Regions from separate parts of the Homo sapiens genome. Here all the other regions are linked to region 1. Evidence: promoter capture Hi-C in 16 types of primary human blood cells and fetal thymus (Javierre and others, 2016). All regions are on one chromosome and are shown on one strand. The core of a region is centred on a gene start or on the middle of the fragment in contact, and the rest is flanking DNA. Distances in the headings are between cores, read along the strand shown.

What was found. The method cuts DNA at HindIII sites, captures the fragments that hold promoters and counts their contacts. A CHiCAGO score of 5 or more calls a contact.
Region 2: a contact is called between a fragment that was not itself captured here and the fragment with the promoter of INPP5D in region 1, in 1 of 17 cell types (neutrophils). The highest score is 6.7, in neutrophils.
Region 3: a contact is called between a fragment that was not itself captured here and the fragment with the promoter of INPP5D in region 1, in 2 of 17 cell types (naive B cells and endothelial precursors). The highest score is 5.6, in naive B cells.
Region 4: a fragment that was not itself captured here is called in contact with the fragment with the promoter of INPP5D in region 1 in 1 of 17 cell types (neutrophils); the score reaches 8.7 in neutrophils.
Region 5: a fragment that was not itself captured here is called in contact with the fragment with the promoter of INPP5D in region 1 in 1 of 17 cell types (neutrophils); the score reaches 6.5 in neutrophils.
Region 6: a contact is called between a fragment that was not itself captured here and the fragment with the promoter of INPP5D in region 1, in 1 of 17 cell types (neutrophils). The highest score is 6.5, in neutrophils.

What each region holds. Positions count from the first base shown.
Region 1 is chr2:233,058,652-233,061,850 of GRCh38, reverse strand. It overlaps INPP5D (inositol polyphosphate-5-phosphatase D), which reads right to left and starts at 1,509. Exons shown (of 27, transcript NM_001017915.3): 1 at 1,239-1,509. The coding sequence starts at 1,372. RefSeq lists enhancers at 865-954, 1,555-1,834 and a silencer at 1,275-1,354. The HindIII fragment of the contact is 5,811 bases long and covers 1-3,199 here.
Region 2 is chr2:233,389,607-233,392,805 of GRCh38, reverse strand. DGKD (diacylglycerol kinase delta) reads right to left here. Exons shown (of 30, transcript NM_152879.3): 3 at 2,323-2,403. Among named protein-coding and RNA genes, the nearest start is that of DGKD, 37 kb to the right of the region's middle. The HindIII fragment of the contact is 5,698 bases long and covers 1-3,199 here.
Region 3 is chr2:232,756,662-232,759,860 of GRCh38, reverse strand. All of the region lies in intron 6 of GIGYF2 (GRB10 interacting GYF protein 2), which reads right to left. Among named protein-coding and RNA genes, the nearest start is that of KCNJ13, 18 kb to the left of the region's middle. The HindIII fragment of the contact is 682 bases long and covers 1,277-1,958 here.
Region 4 is chr2:233,360,150-233,363,348 of GRCh38, reverse strand. All of the region lies in intron 1 of DGKD (diacylglycerol kinase delta), which reads right to left. Among named protein-coding and RNA genes, the nearest start is that of DGKD, 7.3 kb to the right of the region's middle. The HindIII fragment of the contact is 7,993 bases long and covers 1-3,199 here.
Region 5 is chr2:233,338,454-233,341,652 of GRCh38, reverse strand. SAG (S-antigen visual arrestin) reads right to left here. Exons shown (of 16, transcript NM_000541.5): 12 at 2,900-2,977; 13 at 1,175-1,198. Among named protein-coding and RNA genes, the nearest start is that of DGKD, 14 kb to the left of the region's middle. The HindIII fragment of the contact is 5,690 bases long and covers 1-3,199 here.
Region 6 is chr2:232,800,571-232,803,769 of GRCh38, reverse strand. The region is part of intron 14 of GIGYF2 (GRB10 interacting GYF protein 2); the gene reads right to left. Among named protein-coding and RNA genes, the nearest start is that of KCNJ13, 26 kb to the right of the region's middle. The HindIII fragment of the contact is 533 bases long and covers 1,425-1,957 here.

The sequences.
Region 1 (3,199 bases), core at 260-2,759:
CCTGCCCCGCTGGACTGGGAGCAGGAGAGGTTGGGCCACAGGCTGCTGGTCTCAGCTGCAGCCTCTGGGGGCAGATGGCCGTGGCTTTGACTGTTGTCACTCACTTAACCTGCCAGGGCCTCAGATTTCTCATCTGCAAAGTGGGGCTTTTAACAGGACCTTCACTTTAGGTTGTGGTGAGGATGAAATGGGCTAACAAATGCTTAGCACGACAGGTCCCAGCTGTGAGTCAGTATTCAAAACAGGTCTGGGTTCATCACCCAATTCCCCTCCTGCCTGGAGAAGCACAAGGCCCTGGCTGCTCGGGGGAACATTTCTGCCAGCCCAGGGATGCTACTTGAGATGTTCAGGTGGACACACATTTCCCTGACTACACTCCGGCACTGCCTGAGGCCCCGGCAAAATGATTAGACCAAGAGCTGCAGGGCAAGGCCCCCCTATGATTAGACCGAGAGCTGCAGGGCAAGGGCCTCCTTCAGACGCTGGACAGGAAGGGGGTTTTAGAAAGGAACCTTCAGCAAGTGGCTGGTTCCTCCATTGTTAGCACAGCTGGTACATTCAGTAACATCCCCAACCGGGCAGTGGGAGGAGTTGATGGTGACAGAGACCCAAATTGAGGGGGTGGGGGGTGGGCAGCGGTCACAGCCAAGTGCTCAGGAGAGAGAAGAGGCTGCTCGCTGGTGGTAATGGTGACTTCCTCTGCTCTCAGGCCCCTGAAAGCAGCTTCTGACTGAATGGAAAGTCCTTTCTTGATTAAACTCACCCCATATTCTTGGCTCGCCAAACAACAGCTTCCTCCAGGGGCCCGAAGCCTGGGTGCTCCAGGAAGGGTCCCCCTTGCCACCTTTGCTCTTCTCAGGGTTTCTGAGCTGGGCATCTTTGAGCTGATCTCTAACACACCCACCTCCACAGAGCCCTGAGCTTCCTCCTGGCTCCAAAAGCCCAAACTCCCTTCTCTCGGTCCCCAGACTCCAAGGAAGCCACAAGGTCCATACAGCTCATGGGAAGCTGGGGTGTAACATCAGGCCTCAGAGTGGTTCTGACAGCTCCAAGGCTGCAAAACCTGCCATGAGACCAGCTCTCTGAACTCCAAGGACAAGGTCCATGACAGGGTGGCGGGGAAGTGTGCATGTCAGATCACTCTGTCCTGTGACATAAGAACAACCCATCTCAAAGCTGGGCCCCCTCTAAGCCCCTCTGTCATATCTGTGCCCGGGGAGGGAGCAGGTTGTACTCACAGCACGCAGAGCGCGTATGCCCGGGAGATGGACTCGCTGGCACGCACGAGGAAGCTCCCGTCCTTGCCTGTCCTGGAAAGCAGCTCCTCCGCCTTGGAGCGGGTGATGTTGCCATGGTTCCAGCAGGGGACCATGGTGGGCGTGGGCCTCCTCGGCCGGGCCGGCAGGCACCCCCAGGACCCACACACCACCGAGGGGAGCGGAGGCCCCTCCACTGCAACCTGCCGCCCGTTGCCTCTTGGTGGCCTCGGCTGCTGCCACCAGCTTAACTGACTGACTTCCTGTTTCAGGCGCTCAGTGAGGGAAAGGAAACTGAGCTGCGGAGAACTTCCTCATTACAGAAACCAAGCAAGAGAGAGAGAGAGAAAGAGAGAGAGGGGGGGGCCCTGGCCGTCCACCGTCCCCTACACCCTGCCACGGCTGCCGCGGCTCTCTTGCCAGCCCTCTCCTTCCTGGCAACTGGTCGCAGCGTACAATTGAAGTGTCCAGTGGCAGCTGAAGTCCCCCTGGGTGGAATGACCGGCTCTGGAGACGTCAGGAGAGTTGTGGCCACTTCTGAAGAAGCATGGCCTAGCAGGCATGGGTGGGCCAGAGAAGTGGTTCTTCTGCGGCCGTGCTGACACCCACGTGGGATGCCATGCCCTAGACAGGCCCCCGAGCCTTCTGCTCTCCCTCAGGGCTTTTCAGCACCCACCCTGAACCTCCAAAACACCCAAGGGGGCACAGCTTCTCAACTGGGACTACGGCCTGCCCAGGACAGAGCAAACTTGAGGGGGAGGGGACAGTCGAGCCCCACCCCTCCCCTTTAGAGACTCCCAGCGGCCTGGGTGCTGGGAGACCTTGGCTGCCACCAGCCGAGGGCGCCAAGGTCCAAGTGATGGCTCTGTGACCCCATTACCCTCATTCCCAGGGGCGGGTGGGTGCTGCACGGGCAGCACAGCTCTGATCCCTGCAGTCCAGCTTGGAGACACACAAAGGGAGCTTGGAGGGGATGTGGGCCGTTTACAGCGGGAACATAGGCTGGGTTTTTCCCTGGGCTTCTCCAGGATGCTGGGGAAACAAGCTCGGAGAGGAGAACCCCAAAGCCCCACAGGGCAGGCTGGCCGCCTGGCCAAGGACAACACTGGGTGCTGAGTCCTGCGTCTCAGCAGTCGGGGTGGCCGGTCGGACTGCACCGCCTCCAAGACTGGGCATGGCCACATATGCCCACCACTCAAAGAGGAGCTGCCTCTCCAGGGACCGCCATCCAGGACCAGTCATTTCTGAGGGCTCTGCGGTGGACACCCATCCCTCAGCCCCCAGACCTGGGCACCTTCCGTCCTTGGGTCCGGCCCACCAAGGCCGAAGGGGCACGTGTTGACCCGCTGCACAAAGAGTGCCCCCACCATCCCACATCCAGGCCTTGGCCTCCAGGACATGACAACAGACTCCCTCCAGGAAGGGGCACCAGCCAGGCAGCGCCACCACATTCAAGCTGTGGGAACCTGGTCAAGTTTCTTCTCTCTCTCGGCCTTGGTTTCTTCTTGTCTAACTTGAAGGACGTAGCTCGTAAAAGAGCTCACATGTGCCCAGGGGCTCAACATGTGTCACACTGATGGTTGTCCCAGAACAGGGCCCCCAGCACCTCCCCGCTGAGCAACACACATGGCAGGCGAGTCTGTAGGGCAGACAAAGCACTCCCAGTCAAGGACCTCTGGCCAGGCTGGGAGCCAGGCGTGGGGATAGAGTGGTGATGGGAACTGGCCTCCATGCTCCGGCCCTTCCGCAGCACGCCACCTCTGCAGCAGCCCAGTGTGGAGGCCTCTCATTCCCCACCCACGCCTCCACTCAGCACCTGTCCACCCCCTCCTTATGGGGTCATCTCCTATGCTCCCATTGTGTACCTTCACACCCTTCTCACTTCCCTGCTGGCCTCCACCAACATCCATGAAGTCCTGGACCACGCCACCAGGAGGATCCAT
Region 2 (3,199 bases), core at 250-2,749, 330 kb before region 1:
AAATTACAGATGTGGACTCAAAAAGTGAAAAGGTTCAAAAAATGATCAAAATGCAAGAAATAAATATTTTAGGATTTATTTCTATTACAGCCTTATCTCCCTAAAAAGTCTTCTTGACAAATAATTTAAAATAAATTCTCTCGAACTTAAGAAACAACCAATCCCAAAGCTACATAAAATGTTGCAGAAAACATAAACTCATAGAAAGTTACTAAATGAATTTTATGGGGTTGGTTTAACTCTGAAATCAAAACACAGTATGTCCAACTATTATGTATCCATTAAAATTAAAAACAGAAAAAACAATTGTTTAAAACTGCAATAAGGCTACATTCTCACCCAAAACAAATGCATACATACCAGTGGGAAAATTCTAAATTGCAAGATAAAGGAGTAAAATTCAACATTACCAAGAATAATTTTTTTATTAGGAAATATGCAAATAACTGAAACCAAAATGAACATCTAAATTAATGCCCAGGGCCAGGCACAGTGGCTCATGCCTGTAATCCCAGTACTTTGGAAGGTTCAGGCGGGTAGATCACTCCAGGCCAGGAGTTTGAGACCAGCCTGGCCAATATGGTGAAACCCCATCTCTACTAAAATTACGAAGATTATCTGGGCATAACGGTGCACGACTATAATCCCAGCTACTAGGGAGGCTGAGGCATGAGGATCCCTTGAACCTGGGAGACGGAGGTTGCAGTGAGCCGAGATCACACCACCGCACTTCAGCCTGGGTGACAAAGGGAGACAACATCTCAAAAAAATTCATTAATTAATCAACTGATGCTCAGAACACTCCAAAGAAATTCAACACCTACTCCTATTAAAGACTCTAAAAACCACGAATCAAAGAAAAATCTATTTATGTGGTTAAAAATGTCTCTTCCCAGCTGGTAAAAATAAATTAATAGAGAAAACTACAAATACTCCAAGTAAAATAAGAGCAGTTAATCAACACAAAATAAGCAGAGGTTTAGACAGAGAAAGGAAAATCCCATTTGTATTGGCAACATCAACAATGAATCCATCAATAAATAAAATAAAACAAAACTTGAAAGCACCTGAAACTAGCACTAACCCAAAATATCAGATCCTAAACTTGAGGAAAATTACTCACCTTGACTGAATTATAAAAGAATAATTTTTTTAATTAGGGTACACACTTTTTGTCTACATGGGATGGCCTAATAACATAAAGAAAAACAGCTTTAAAAGTTCTAGTGCTGTTATTAGAGTCAAACCTTACACAGGCAGGCGCTAAAGTCAGCCCGTAAAGCCTAAATTATAAAATCCTACAAGAAAATGCTACTATAGCCATTAAATAATATCATGAACATTTAGATCAGCTGACATGAGCAACTCTCTACTATAAATTGTCCTGGGGGGGGAAAAAAACACAGGTGTAAACCAAAAGGTTCAGCATGATCTCATGGGTACATGTAGGTAAAGACATAAATATACAGAAATAAAGATAAACACTGTAGAGTAAGCAGCTGGCCACTTCCAAGTGGTGAGATCACATGATTCTGTGCATTTAGAACTTTTGCAGAAAGTCCTACATAACTTTTATAAATTTGGAAGGAAGAAAGTTTAAACATAAAAAAGGAAAAAAAAAAGAAATACACCAAAATATTAACATTCAATGTTTTTTGAGGTGGCTGTTATGGCTGCTTTTTAATTGCTTTAACATACTTGTCTGCATTTTCCAAATTTTCTACATTAATCACAAAAAACAAAACTCTGTACAGAGGTAGTAAGATGTGAACCAGCAAAGCGTGGTGGCTCACACCTGTAATCCCAGGATTTTGGGAGGCCAAGGAGGGTGGATCACCTGAGGTTGGGAGTTCGAGACCACCCTGACCAACACGGAGAAACCCTGTCTCTACTAAAAATACAAAATTAGCCAGGTGTGGTGGCACATGCCTGTAATCCCAGCTACTCGGGAGGCTGAGGCAGGAGAATCGCTTGAACTCGGGAGGCGGAAGTTGCTGTGAGCTGGAGATCACGCCATTGCACTCCAGCCTGGGCAACAAGAGCCAAACTCCGTCTCAAAAAAAACAAAACAGACGTGAACCAAAACACATATAAAAATTTTTCATTTGGTCCCTATTGTCCTTTTGTGCTTATGCATGCCAAATTCTTGGTTATTCTCCAACCACAGTATTACTTTCAGCATTAAATTCAAATTTTACCAGCAATCATTCCAATCAGTAAGAAAAGAATGAAAACGTTTGAACTGCTTGGACACATGTTCAGATCAAAAAGGAAAGCCAACTTCAGTGAAGAATCAAGAAAGGCATGACTGAGGAATCTTACCGTAAAACTGTTGTTGACGTTTTTGGTACTGGATTCAGCTACGCTGGCATCTGTCAGATCCACCTCATCAAATATGATTGACTAGAAAGAGACAAACACAGGGACTAAGGCACATAAAGACAGGTACATCCCTAAGCACTAGCCAGCGCTGCCCACCACACCCCAATGATCCCTAACAAGCACCCACAGAAGCCCCAGTACCTTGAAACTGTAGCATCCAATCAATAAGCCAATCCAAATTAACCCACCCACCTGCTTCTAACCAAAAGCTCGGGCTCACAGGTATAGTGCCATGATTTTTTTAAAAAAATCTACAAACATTGTCATTGCATTAGTGAAGGAAGAAAGAGAGAGAACCAAAGCAAACAACCCAATGCTGGTATTTCTGTATTTACTACTGTCAATACCAGTATTCACTTTTACATGTGAAGTATGTTCTCACACAGTGTTTTAGCTGAGGGAAGGCCGGGGTCTGGACTGAGGATTCCGTGTCCTCCTGGCTTGTTCCTCCAGCGAGCACATGGAGGGGGAAGGTCCTGGCTAAAACAAATTCTTCTGGAGAAGAGAGACAGGTCCAAATGGAAAGGGTCTGGCCGTGAAAGGAAACAAGGGAGTAGAGCAGAAGGATCCTGGTCCTGGAGAGAAAGATGCTCCAGGGCAGGGCTGGGAGTCAGGCCTGGGGACCTCCCCCGTCTCCCTCTCCACTCCCTACAGGGTCCCCCGGCACAGCCCCTGCCTCCTGTTTCCCTTATACCATCCCCTCTATTCTACGATGGCTCTATGAGGAACCCTGGAGAAAATCAAACTAATAACTCAGAAAAGAAACTCAATCTTTTAAGTAACCTTTCCCCTCCCCGCACCACCAGAACTAACTGTA
Region 3 (3,199 bases), core at 368-2,867, 300 kb after region 1:
CTGGGCATAGGGATTGAGAGGCTCTCTCTGGTGGTTCAAGCATAAACTGGCCTTTACTGAAGGCAATTTGGTTAGATCTATTGACATTTGATTCAACAATTCTACTTAGGATTTATCCTAATAGAAATAGTTGTACAAAAATGCAAATATATATGAAGATGTTCACTGTAATTAAAAAAAAAAACTAGAAATCTAATCAATAAAGGATTAGCTACATAAATTCTGATAAAATACAGTAGAACACTATGATGCCACAGCAGATTAAGCACGGACATTATTCTGTTCAATAACAAGAACATACTGAAGAATGATGCATATAAAAATTATTCCATTTATATAAATGATATAGCTGCACCGTTAGGGTCAAGAAGGCTATATATCCAATTGTTAGGTCTGGAGGCAGAAGACCGTATGCACTTTTAGCTTCATACTTTATGTACAGTTTTCCCAACAAACATTTGTATTCAATACACAGGTGAGAAAATGAGAGGAGGGGAGGAGGGGTGGGGGTCCAAGGATGTATTTGTAACTAGGTGAAATCTTAGCCATCGTCCCTAGCTCAATTTTTCTCACAGTGCACAATGACCCAAAGAAAAATGATGGATCTTGATGAATGCATCCCAAAGCTAAATATAATTGAGCTAATTACTTCAAATATCCATGCAGTATTTCTATTTCTTGTTTGTAATTTATCAAGAATTAACTCAGAATACACTTGTACTTTTATATGACTATATTATGAAGTATCAAAATAATGCACCAAATTATTTTGTGGGTAATCTTAGAAACAATGGATACCCTCTTGACGAGTGCAAGTATCCACTTCTTCATTTGTCAAACGGAAGTGAGAAGCACGGTGGAACTATAATAAAGTTACCCTTCCACTTGTGTCAACTTCACTTAAAGTCAACTCACAGTTTAAGTACTTCTCCCCTTCAGGAAATGTATACACTGTATTTAAGATCCTAAAATAATGTAATATAAATTGTCATATAACGCATGTCCTCTACAAGGAAGATTTTAGGATGGGGGCAAAAGTCTCCTCATCTTTTAGAGAAAGCCATTTGCTCAGGAAGGCCCTTACACTTGTATCACCTTGAAGAAAATGTTTTATTCCAGAAACATATAAATATAAAAAATAGCCTCCAGCTTACCAGAAAGACAAGCAAAACACATATAAAATATTTTCTCAGTTATAACTAGCACTGACACCGGTCCTGCTAATGATACTAAAACTTTAGGGTGGGACATACTACAACGATCAGGTTCTAAAGCTTTCCAACTTGGAAAAATTTTAATCTTCTATAAAGTGGTTCCCATACATGAATAAGGAAGTAAATATAACATGATGAACCTATCGTAAGGCTCAATTAAAGAACTGTTCTACTAAGAATTCACCCTATTCTTTTTGGGAATTAAAACATACTTCCTTTTAATAATGATGAAGACAATAGTTGAGAGCTCTGTCAATCTGCTTTATTTTTAAACAACCTAACCAAATAAAATGACAGTTTCATGTTGTTCTTACCACCTATTTAGTTTATTTAAATTTTACTAGTACATGATATTTAGCAGCCTGGAAATCAGTCAATTTCCACATCAAAGTTTCCTAAAGTTGCAAACAGCCAAGATAATCATCTAGTGTTAGCTCTGCCTATACAAAGAAAAGCCACAATAATCATTATTTAACCAGCAAGTTAAAATTAAGTAATGAGTGGAAAACACAAAACCACAGATTATAATTACAACCTTCTTTCAGAAAATGAGCTACTGAGATCATTAAGAAGAATCACGGGTGGTTGAGATAATGTTAAAAGTACTTTTCACACCAAGTCAGTTCAGTCACTTGACTAGTTTCGTGCCATTCTTCAACATTAATATGTAAATAAAGTCATGACTTCTTACATATGTCACATCTATCTTTTTTACATAGCCTGATTAAATTCTGAATGTAAGCTTTCTATCATATGTGATAACCCTTCATTTCAAAGAAACCAAAAAGCAAGGAGAAATTCAATCATAAACCAAAAAGCAAGGAGAAATTCAATCATTCACTTGTTTCTAGATTAAGTAATGGCGGGGGGCGGGGGGTGCTGTTCAGAGATTGGTTGGTATTTGCAGCACACAAAAGTCGGTGTTATTCACACTTCTTCACCAAGAAGATCTCTCCCTGGCTTGCCCTGAAAAGCACTGGAGGCAAAGCTGCCCAAGTACAACCTCTCCTTGCTACCAACCCACAGCAGAAAAACACAGGAAATGCCCAAGCAGCAGGCCAGAGCCATAAGTGGTCAGTCCCAACTCGAAACCACCACCATGCCACCAAGATGCATGGATCTCAAATTCTGGACCAATGGAACCTAACTCGGTGTATGAATCTGAACTGCCTGTGGAGCTTTTGAAGCACACACATGCCTAGATCCCACCACCCAAAATTTTGTTGCACAGGTATTTCCTTTAAGTTTTACAGATTAGTCTAACATCTCCTCAGGTTAAAAAAAAAAATATTCTCTAAAGATGGACAAATAAAGCCAGAGGGAAAAACACAACTATGTAATAGTACCTAGCAAAACAAGTGGAGACTTTTAATCAGACACTTCACACCTGGATTCCCACATTCTGAGTGGACTACTAAAAGAAATCTCTTCCCAGGAATGCACAATTGAATGCATTTTCTAGAGAGACTGTAGATAAATTACTCTATTTATAAAGAATTTAAATACTCTATACTCATGATCATGCCAATCTTGGTGGTACAATATGCAGAGACAATGGTCTCACTCATTGCAGACATCCAATTCTTCCATTTCTAAAGCATCTCTTACAGAAAATCACAAGGTGTATTTAGACCACTGTTATGATTTAGTCAACGTAAGAGCTACATGATTAAGCAAATATTCATATTACAAATATTTAAGAATGTCGTCATATAGGAGAAAATCAGCAAACCCAAAATAGGGGGCAGATATCAAAGAAACAAGTAATATCAAAATAAGAACTATTTTTCCAAGACAAAAATATGTAAAACTATAGGTTAAATAAATGAATGTGGCAGAATTATCTTTTTTTCTACCCCTAAATGTCCTAGTCCTGATGAGGCAGTTTTTGTTAAAGCCCCTCTCTGGCTGGAGAAGCTCTTGGCACACGCCCCTCACACAGAAACTGTCACAGAGGACTGCAGGTACTTCAGTGCTGCTTCCAT
Region 4 (3,199 bases), core at 290-2,789, 300 kb before region 1:
TTTTTTAATTATTTTACTTCTTAAATATTTTTGTTAAAAACTAAGAAACAAACACACACATTAGCCTAGACCTACACAGAGTCAGGATCATCAGTATCATTATCTTCCGCCTCCACATCCTATCCCACTGGAAGGTCTTCAGGGACAATGACGTGCATGGAGCTGTCACCTCCTATGATAACAATGCCTTCTTCTGGATACCTCCTGAAGGACCTGCTTGAGGCTGTTTTACAATTTGTTTTTCTTTTTTCTATAAGTAGGAAGAATATACTCTAAAATAATAAAAAGTATAGATAGTAAATACATAAACCAGTAACATAGTTGTTTATTATCATCATCAACTATTATGTACTGTATATACTTGTATGTGCTATACTTTTCTACCACTTGCAGTGCAGTAGGTCTGTTTACACCAGCATCACCACAAACACATAGGTAATTCATTGCCCTACAACATTATAACAGCTACCACGTCACTAGACAATTGGAATTTTTCAGCTTCATTATAATCTTATGGGACCACCTTTGTCCATGTGGATCATCATCCGGAAACATCATTATGCAGAGCACAAGGGTGTACCAGGAATTGATTAGATATGGTTCTTTCAGTTCATACGGCTATCGAATCTGTTCATGGTACCTGTTATTTGTTGTAGAAAATTCTCAGGTATTACTTTTCTTTCTTTTTTTTCTATTTAATACAGAGTTTCGCTCTTGTCGCCCAGGCTGTAGTGTAATGGTGTGGTCTCAGCTCACTGCAACTTCCACTTCCCAGGTTCAAGCGATGCTCCTGCCTCAGCCTCCCGAGTAGCTGGGATTACAGGCATCTGCCACCACACCCAGCTAATTTTTGTACTTTTAGTAGACACAGGGTTTCACCATGTTGGCCAAGCTGGTCTTGAACTCCTAACCTCAGGTGATCCGCCCACCTCAGCATCCAAAACTGCTGGGATTACAGTCGTGAGTCACTGCACCTGGCCACATTATCTTTTCAAATATTGTGTCTCCTCAATTTTCTCTCACTTCTCCTCTCTTGTGACAATTAAACACAAGTAAGACCTTCTTACTATATCTGTCTCCCACCCTCTCCAAATTTTTCCATTTTTTATGTCTCCAGGCTTCCTTGTGGGTATTTTCTTCTGAGCTATCTTCTGGTTCACACAATTTTTTCAGCCTGGGTCTAATCTGCTCTTTTTTTGGTTAGTTAATTTTGATCACTATGCTTTTTCAATTTTATAATTTTCTTTTATTGGCTGGGTGAGGTGGCTCACGCATGTAATCCCAGCACTTTGGGAGGCCGAGGCGGGCAGATCACCTGAGATTGGGAGTTCGAGACCAGCTTAGCTAACATGGTAAGACTCCGTCTCTATTAAAAATACCAAAAAATTAGCTGGGCGTGGTGATGGGCACCTGTAATCCTAGCTACTCGGGGGGCTGAGGCAGGAGAATTGCTTGAACCCAGGAGGCAAAGGTTGTAGTGAGCTGAGATCATGCCACTGCACTACAGCCTGGGTGACAAGAGTGAGACTCCGTCTTAAAAGAAAAAAAAAATGTCTAGTATCTTTAGTAGAGGCGGGATCTTGCCATGTTGGCCAGGCTGGTCTCAAACTCGTGACCTCCAATGATCCACCTGCCTCAGTCCAAAAGTGCTGAGATTATAGGCGTGAGCCATCTGGCCAGTGTGGACTAGAATTTTCATCTGGTTCTTTTCCATAGTTTCTAGTTCTCTGCCAAAACTCTCCATCTGATCTCGTGTCTCCTCCAACACAACGAGCACAGTTGTTATAAAGTCTGGGTCTGGAGTCTGGAAGCCCTGTGGGTCTGTCTACAGCCTGTAGTTTCGACTGGTTTTAGCTCAAGTGCCTCGCCTCCCTTGATGTCTATTTTTTTACTGTATGCACAATCATGAACGTACAAACAGACTCGTGAAAGTCATTAGAGGCCTCCATTGATAACTGGGAGGATTAGAGGGAGATATCTCCCTCTAGAGAGGATTAAAGTTTGCTTCTGTTGGGAATCTAGAGACACTAGTACACTGGGATTACTTTAATTTCAGAGGACTGAGGTGATTTGAAGCAGGGCTGCAGTCCTTCCAATACTTCTGGCTCCTGCGCATTCCTTGGAAGTGGCTTCTTTGGATCCCAATCCAAATTGTGAGGGGAGGGTGTCACCCAGGACTGTTGCCCTTTGGCAGAACCTGGCACCTCAGCCCTGCTAAGGCACTCAGACAGTCTCACAGGGCTCAGCCTCTTGGCTCCCATGTTTTGTTCAGGGCCCAGTGTTCTTTCCCCAGGGCTGCCCTAGGGCTGCCATAAAACTTCAAGGCTTAAAACAAAACTTGGAAAAAAAAAAAAAAAAAAAAAACTTGACTGTCTCACTGCTCTGGGGGCTGGAAGTCGGAGATCAAGGGATCAGAAGGCCGCACTCCCTCTAAAGGCTCTAGGGGAGATTCCATCTGTTATCTCTTCCAGCTTCTGGTGGCCCCAGGCATTCCTTGGTTTGCATCAACGAACTCTAATCTCCGGCTCTATTTTCCCATAACCTTTTTCCCAACATGTCTTTCTGTCCAAATCTCCCTCCCCTTCCTCTTATAAAGAAACCAACACTGGATTTAGAGTTTCTCCTAAGTTCACGATGATTTACTCTCAAAATCTTTAATTAGCCAGGCACAGTGGCTTGAGCCTACGCTCCCAGCTACTCAGAAGCCTGAAGCAGGAGGATCACTTGAGCCCAGGAGTTTGAGACCAGCCTGGGGAATATAGCAAGACCCTATCTCAAAATAAAAAATTTTGGCCAGGCACAGTAGCTCATGTCTGTAATTCTAGCACTTTGGGAAGCCAAAGGGGGAGGATCGCTTGAGCCCAGGAGTTTGAGACCCCAAGCATGGGCAACATAGTGAGACCCTCGTCTCCATAAAAATGTGTTTTTAAATTAGCCAGGCATCATGGAATGCATCTGGAGTCCCAGCTACTCAGGTGGCTGAGGCAGGAGGATTGCCTGAGCCCAGCCAGAGACTGCAGTATGCCACTGCACTCCAGCCTGGACGACCGAGCAAGACCCTGTCTCAGAAAAAAAGAAAAAAAATTTTTTTAAAGATATTTAACTAATATCTTATTATGTGGGCATCCTGAAGTTCTAGGTGGACCAAATTTGGTAGAGATGCCAAATCCACTACAGACGCCACTACAGATTCCAAGGT
Region 5 (3,199 bases), core at 421-2,920, 280 kb before region 1:
TATAGATTTGCCTGTTCTGGATATTGTGTGTAAATGGATTCATACAATATGTGGCCTTTTGTTATTGGTTTCTTTCACTTAGCGTAGTGTTATTAGTATAAGGTTTATCCATGTTGTAGCATGTACTAGTACTCCATTCCTTTTTATGGCTCAGTAATATTCCATTGCATGGATATACCACATTTTGTTTATCCCATTCATCTGTTGGTGGACATTTGGGTTGTTTCTACCTTTTGGTATTGCAAATAGTGACAGCTGCCTTTTAAATTATGCACGAAGCAGCAGCAAGTTAAGAAACATTTGAGACAGGCATTGAGGTTATGTACTGCATCATCTCAGCTCTTAGTCGGGCATAGTGGCGTGCACCTGTAATCCCAGCTACTCAGGATGCTGAGGCAGGAGAATTGCTTGAACCAAGGAGGCAGAGGTTGCACTGAGCCAAGATCATGCCACTGCACTCGAGCCTGGGCAACAGAGCAAGACTCTGTCTCAAAATAAAATAAAATAAAATAAAACAAAACGGTTAAAATGGTAAAATTTGCCAGGTGTGGTGGCTCATATCTATAATCCCAGCACTTTGGGAGGCCAAGGCAGGATCATCACTGGAGGTCAGGAGTTCGAGACCAGCCTGGCCAACATGGGGAAACCCCGTCTCTACTAAAAATACAAAAATTAGCCAGGTGTTGTGGCACACGCTTGTAATCTCAGCTACTCAGGAGGCTGAGGCGGGAGGATTGCCTGAACCCAGGAAGTGGAGGTCACGGTGAGCCGAGATCACGTCACTGCACTCCAGGCTGGGCCACAGAGTGAGACTACATCTCAAAAAATAAAATAAATAATATAATGGTAAAATTTATGTTATGTGTATTTTACCGCACACAAACACACACACACACACACAAGCTGGCTGCATGGAGTGTGCCAGTTTTCTGGGTGTGTATGTGTGTGTCCTTACCCAGGCATAGGTCTAGCTGTGGTCCCAAAGAAATCTGGTCCCAAAGAAACGCCTATGAGCCACGGTTCTGTGATGCATCCGAAGGCAAAGCATCATTCCTAACACCTCTGAGCACAACTGTCCAGAAAGCAGCTTTCATCAGAAACCGTTTTGGAGCCCCAAGTTTGCTGCCTTTGATATCTTGAGAAACAATCAAACAAGGAAGGTGAACAGGCTTACCTGGAGGTGAGCTCTCCCAGAAAGCTAGAAAACACAAACAAACGCCTGTCGTTAACTGTCACAGTGGTAACACGACCCTTTCCCATGATTCAGAGGCAGGACACAGCCCAGCTCTCATGGCCCTTGCACCCGAACTCACAACATCCAGGGTCTTCCCATCCCTTAATGTTCAACTTCATTACCTGTGACTTCATCTCTTTCTCAAGATGATTAGTTTAAAAAGGCCGGGCATGGGGGATCATGCCTGTAATCCCAGCACTTTGGGAGGCCGAGGTGGGCGGATCACTTGAGGTCATGAGTTCCAGACCAGCCTGACCAACGTGGTAAAACCCCATCTCTACTAAAAATACAAAAATTAGCCGGGCATGGTGGCAGGCGCCTGTAATCTTAGCTACTCGGGAGGCTGAGGCAGGGGAATTGCTTGAACCTGGGAGGTGGAGGTTGCAGTGAGCTGAGATCATGCCACTGTACTCCAGCCTGGGTGACAGAATAAGACTCCGTCTCAAAAAAAAAAGTTGGCTGGGCACGGTGGCTCACACCTGTAATCCAGCACTTTGGGAGGCTGAGGTGGGCAGATCACTTGAGGTCAGAAGTTCGAGACCAGCCTGGCTAACATGGTGAAACCCCGTCTCTACTAAAAATACAAAAATTAGCCAGGCATGGTGGTGGGCACCTGTAATCCCAGCTACTCAGAAGCTGAGGCAGGAGAATCACTTGAACCTGGGAGGTGGAGGTTACAGTGAGCCGAGGTCATGCCACTGCACTCCAGAGTGAGAGATTACATCTCAAAAAAAAAAAGTCAAGCCCTAACATTCAAGATAAGTCACAAGAGGTCATTGTGAAATACCTGCTGGTTGCTTTCCTTGACTGCTAAAAGAAACTCCACCCTGTTTTTAGATCCTTTTATGCACTATCCACAGTGAAAAAAAAAAAAAAAAAAACACTATGCTAACGAAAAATGCAAAATAGACCCATGTTCTACTTTGTTAGAAATTTGGGAAACTCTTTTTAAACGCTTATTTTCCTCAAGGGAATTCTTTACTACTTAGAAGTATGAAACCTAGGCACAGACTTGCCTTTGATGGCAGAACTACCCAAGGCTCATCCAGGTAAAAGGCCAGAGCCTTTGGCAATGGAATTTGAAACGAAAATGAGAATTCAAGTTTTTCCCTTTTGGTAAGATTAAACAAATGGAAGAAACTGGCTTCACATGAAAATGAAAGTGGAAACCTGTTCCCTTAAAACTCTGAGATATTGGCACTCTTGTATGAAAAGAAGACTCCTGTGCCCTGTGATTACATGTGTGAGAGGGGAGGGGAAAGTCCCCACTTTATGGATGGATACCTTCTAAGATGCAAAAACATGAAGATTTACTGAGAGTTCTTTCACAGCAGTTATTCTTTTCTGAAGGATAACATTTGACTAATCCTCATTCTTGCACATCAGCTTCTACCACATGCACATATGCACACGTATTTTTGCAAAGTGGCGCTAAGAATGCACACATTTCAGAGTCTGCTTCTCCACCCTTTCCCACCTGACATTTTATCAGACAGAAGCATGGTACTAGACAAACAGAATCTCTCCCAAGCTCTACTTGGTAATCCTTGGTAGAAGCTATGGGCCTTTCCTTGCTTTCTGTCTCCCAGTCATTCAGGAAAGGAAAAGTTCAGACCATCTAAGACCAGGACAGAGCAGCCCGAGGGTTGGTGCCGGGACACTTACCCTGACACTGTGAGCTTCACCTTGATCTGGTAAGACACCAGGATTCCCAGGACGGTCCGGTCTATGCCCTCCTTAATGCTGCCCAAACAGAAGGGAAAAGGAGAATGATGGAGAGCAGAGGAGGGTGAAGAGCAGATGGGCAGCCTTTCCATTCGAGGCAGGCATGCCGTCATGGAGGTTCTCCAGGGACTGGTGAACTCACTGAGCTTCCAAAGTCCTAGAAGTTCATGTACTTGGGGAGTGGGTATGGGGACTCCTTGCACGCACTGGAGGAATTCCTGTGTCTTCTCCTCTAGAAGT
Region 6 (3,199 bases), core at 442-2,941, 260 kb after region 1:
CTTGCAGTGAGCCGAGATTGCGCCACTGCAGTCCGCAGTCCGGCCTGGGCGACAGAGCGAGACTCCGTCTCAAAAAAAAAAAAAAAAAAAAAAAAGAAGCAGAAATAGAAACAGACCCACAAAGAAATAGACCCACACAAATATGCTTAACTAAATTTTGACAAAGGTGAAAGAAAACAATTTAAGAGAGAAAAGACATTCTTGGTCCCGAAGCAAACGGACACTCATTGAGAAAACAACAACAAAAAACAACTAGCTTATATGAAAATTAATTTAAAATGGACCATGAACTTAAATGTAAATTATAAAAACTATAAAATTTTTCCACACACACACAAAAAAAACCATTGGCATCTAAAGCTAGGCAAAGTGTTCTTGTTAAACTTAATACAAAAAAGAACAACCTATAAAAGAAAAACATTTATCTATTGGATTAATCAAAATTTACACCTTTTTGCTCTGTGAAAGACTCTATTAAGAGAATGAAATGAAAAGATAAAGACTGACAAAAAATATGTACAAACCACATATCCATCAAAGGACTAGTATCTAGAATCAGTAATCAAAAATCTCTGAACAGGCCGGGCACAGTGGCTCACGCCAGTAATCCCAGCAGTTTGGGAGGCCAAGGCAGGCAGATTATCTGAGGTCAGGAGTTCGAGACCAGCCTGGCCAACATGGTGAAACCCCATCTCTACTAAAATGAGCCGGGCATGGTGGCACACGCCTGTAATCTCAGCTACTCAGGAGGCTGAGGCAGGAGAACTGCTTGAGCTCGGGAGACAGCGGTTGCAGTGGGCTGAGACTGTGCCACTGCACTCCAGCCTGGCCGACAGAGCTAGACTCTGTCTTTAAAAAAAAAAAAAAAAAATCTCTGGACAAAGGAAAGCCCTGCCCTGATGGCTTCTCTGGTGAAAAACGCACCAAACATTTAAGGAAAAACTAATCATAATCCTTCTCAAACTTTTTCCAAAAACTGAAAAGGAAGCAAGATTACCTACACTTCCTAACTAATTCTATGAAGCCAAAATTACCCTGGTATCAAAGTCAGACAAAGGCTCTAAAGAAAAATATAGACCAATATCCTTTATGAACACTGATGCAAAAATTCTTAACAAAATACTAGCAAAGCAAATTCAGCAATATATTAAAAAGATTATACACCATAATCCAAGTGGGATTTATTTATTCCTAGAATGCAAGGATGGTTCAAGGCATCAATATATGAAAATTGATCAATGTAATATACCATATTAATAAGGGGGGAAAAAAACCACATGGTCATCTTAATTGACACAGAAGTAGTATCACCCTTTCATAAGGGTCAAGAAACTAAGAATAGAGAGATCTAACTAAATATAATAAAAGTCATATATAAAAATCCCACAGTGGACATCATATTCAATAGTGAAAAACTGAAAGCTTTTCCTCTAACATTAGGAGATAGCGAAGGACGCCCACTTTCACCACTTCCCTATTCAAGATAGTACTAAAGGTTCTAGTCAGAACAACTGGGCAAGAAAAAAAAAAAGCATCCAAATTAGGAAGAAGTCTGTTCACAGATGATATAATCTTTTATGCAGAAAATTCTAGATTCTTTTTTTCTAAAAACAGGTTAGAAGTAAAAAATAAATTCAGCAAAGTGGCAGGACACAAAGTCAACGCTGAAAAATCAGTTGCATTTCTATACACCAACAATGAACAATCTGAAAAGAAAATTAGAAAAAAATTCCCCTTACAATAACATCAAAAAGAATACATACTTCGGGATTAACCAAGGATGTAAAAATCTTGTACAAAGAAAACTACAAAACACTGCTAAAAGAAATTAAAGACCTAAATAAATGGAAACACATCCATGTTCATGGACTGGAAGATTTAACATTGTTACAATGTCAGTACTACCGAAAGCAACCTACAGATTAAAGATAATCCCTATTAAAATCCCAATGAAGCTTGCTGCAGAAACAGAAAAATCCCATCCTAAAATACATACGAAGTCTCAAAAGACAGCAAATGGCCAAAACAATGTTTCTTTCTTGAAAAATAGCAAGAGATCTATCATGCAACAATGACTATAGTTAACAATGTATTGTACTCTTAAAAAACACTGCCAAGTAGATTTTTAAGTGTTCTCACTATAAAATGATTAGTATGCTTGTTAATTAACCTGACTTAGCCATCCATAATATGTATGCGTATTTAAAAACATCATGTCGTATACAACAAATATATAATGTATATGTCTTTTTTTTGTTTGTTAAGACAGGGTCTCTGTTACTCAAGCCAAGTGCTGTGCTCAATGCAGCCTCAACTTCCTGGGCTCTAGCAATTCTCCTGCCTCAGCCTCCCAAGTAGCTGGGACTACAGGTGCATACCACCATGCCTGGCTTTTTTATTATTTGTAGAGACAGGGTCTCACTGTGTTGCCCAGGCTGGTCTCGAACTCTTGGACTCAAGTGATCCTCCCGCCTCAGACTCCCAAAGTGCTGAGATTACAGGCATGAGCCACCACGCCCAGCCCCTTATATGACTATTTAAAAATGTAATTAATAAAATTTTTTGGCCAGGTGCAGTGGCTCACACCTATAATCCCTCTTTGGGAGGCCAAGGTGGCAGAGGAAAGACAGGGAGTACCACTTACGGCCAGGAGTTCAAAACCAGCCTGGTCAACATAGCAAGAATTTGTCTCTTTTTTTTCTTTTTAAAGATGGGGTGGGATCTCTTGGCTCGGCGCAATGGCTCATGCCTGTAATCCCACCTACTTGGGTGGCTGAGGCAAGAGAATTGCTTGAACCCAGAAGGCAGAGGTTGCAGTGAGCCAAGATTGCCCCACTGCACTGCAGACTGCGTGACAGAGCAAGGCTCTGTCTCAAAAAAAGCGAGAGACAGGGTCTCACTATGTTGCCCAGGCTGATCTCAAACTCCTGGACTCAAGCAGTCCTCTGGTCTCAGCCTCCCAAGGAAACAGGATTACAGGCATGAGCCAGCGTGTGTCAGCTGAAACCTCATCTCTAAAAAAGAAAAATAATTAGCTGAGTATGGTGGTGTGTGCTTGTTCTAAGGAGGCTAGGGTGGGATCACTGGAGCCCAGGAGTTTGAGGCTACAGTGAGCCATTATCATACCACTGCACTCCAGCCTGGGCAACAGAGCAAGACCCGGTCTTAAAAAAAAAAAAAGAAAAAAAGAAAAGAAAAA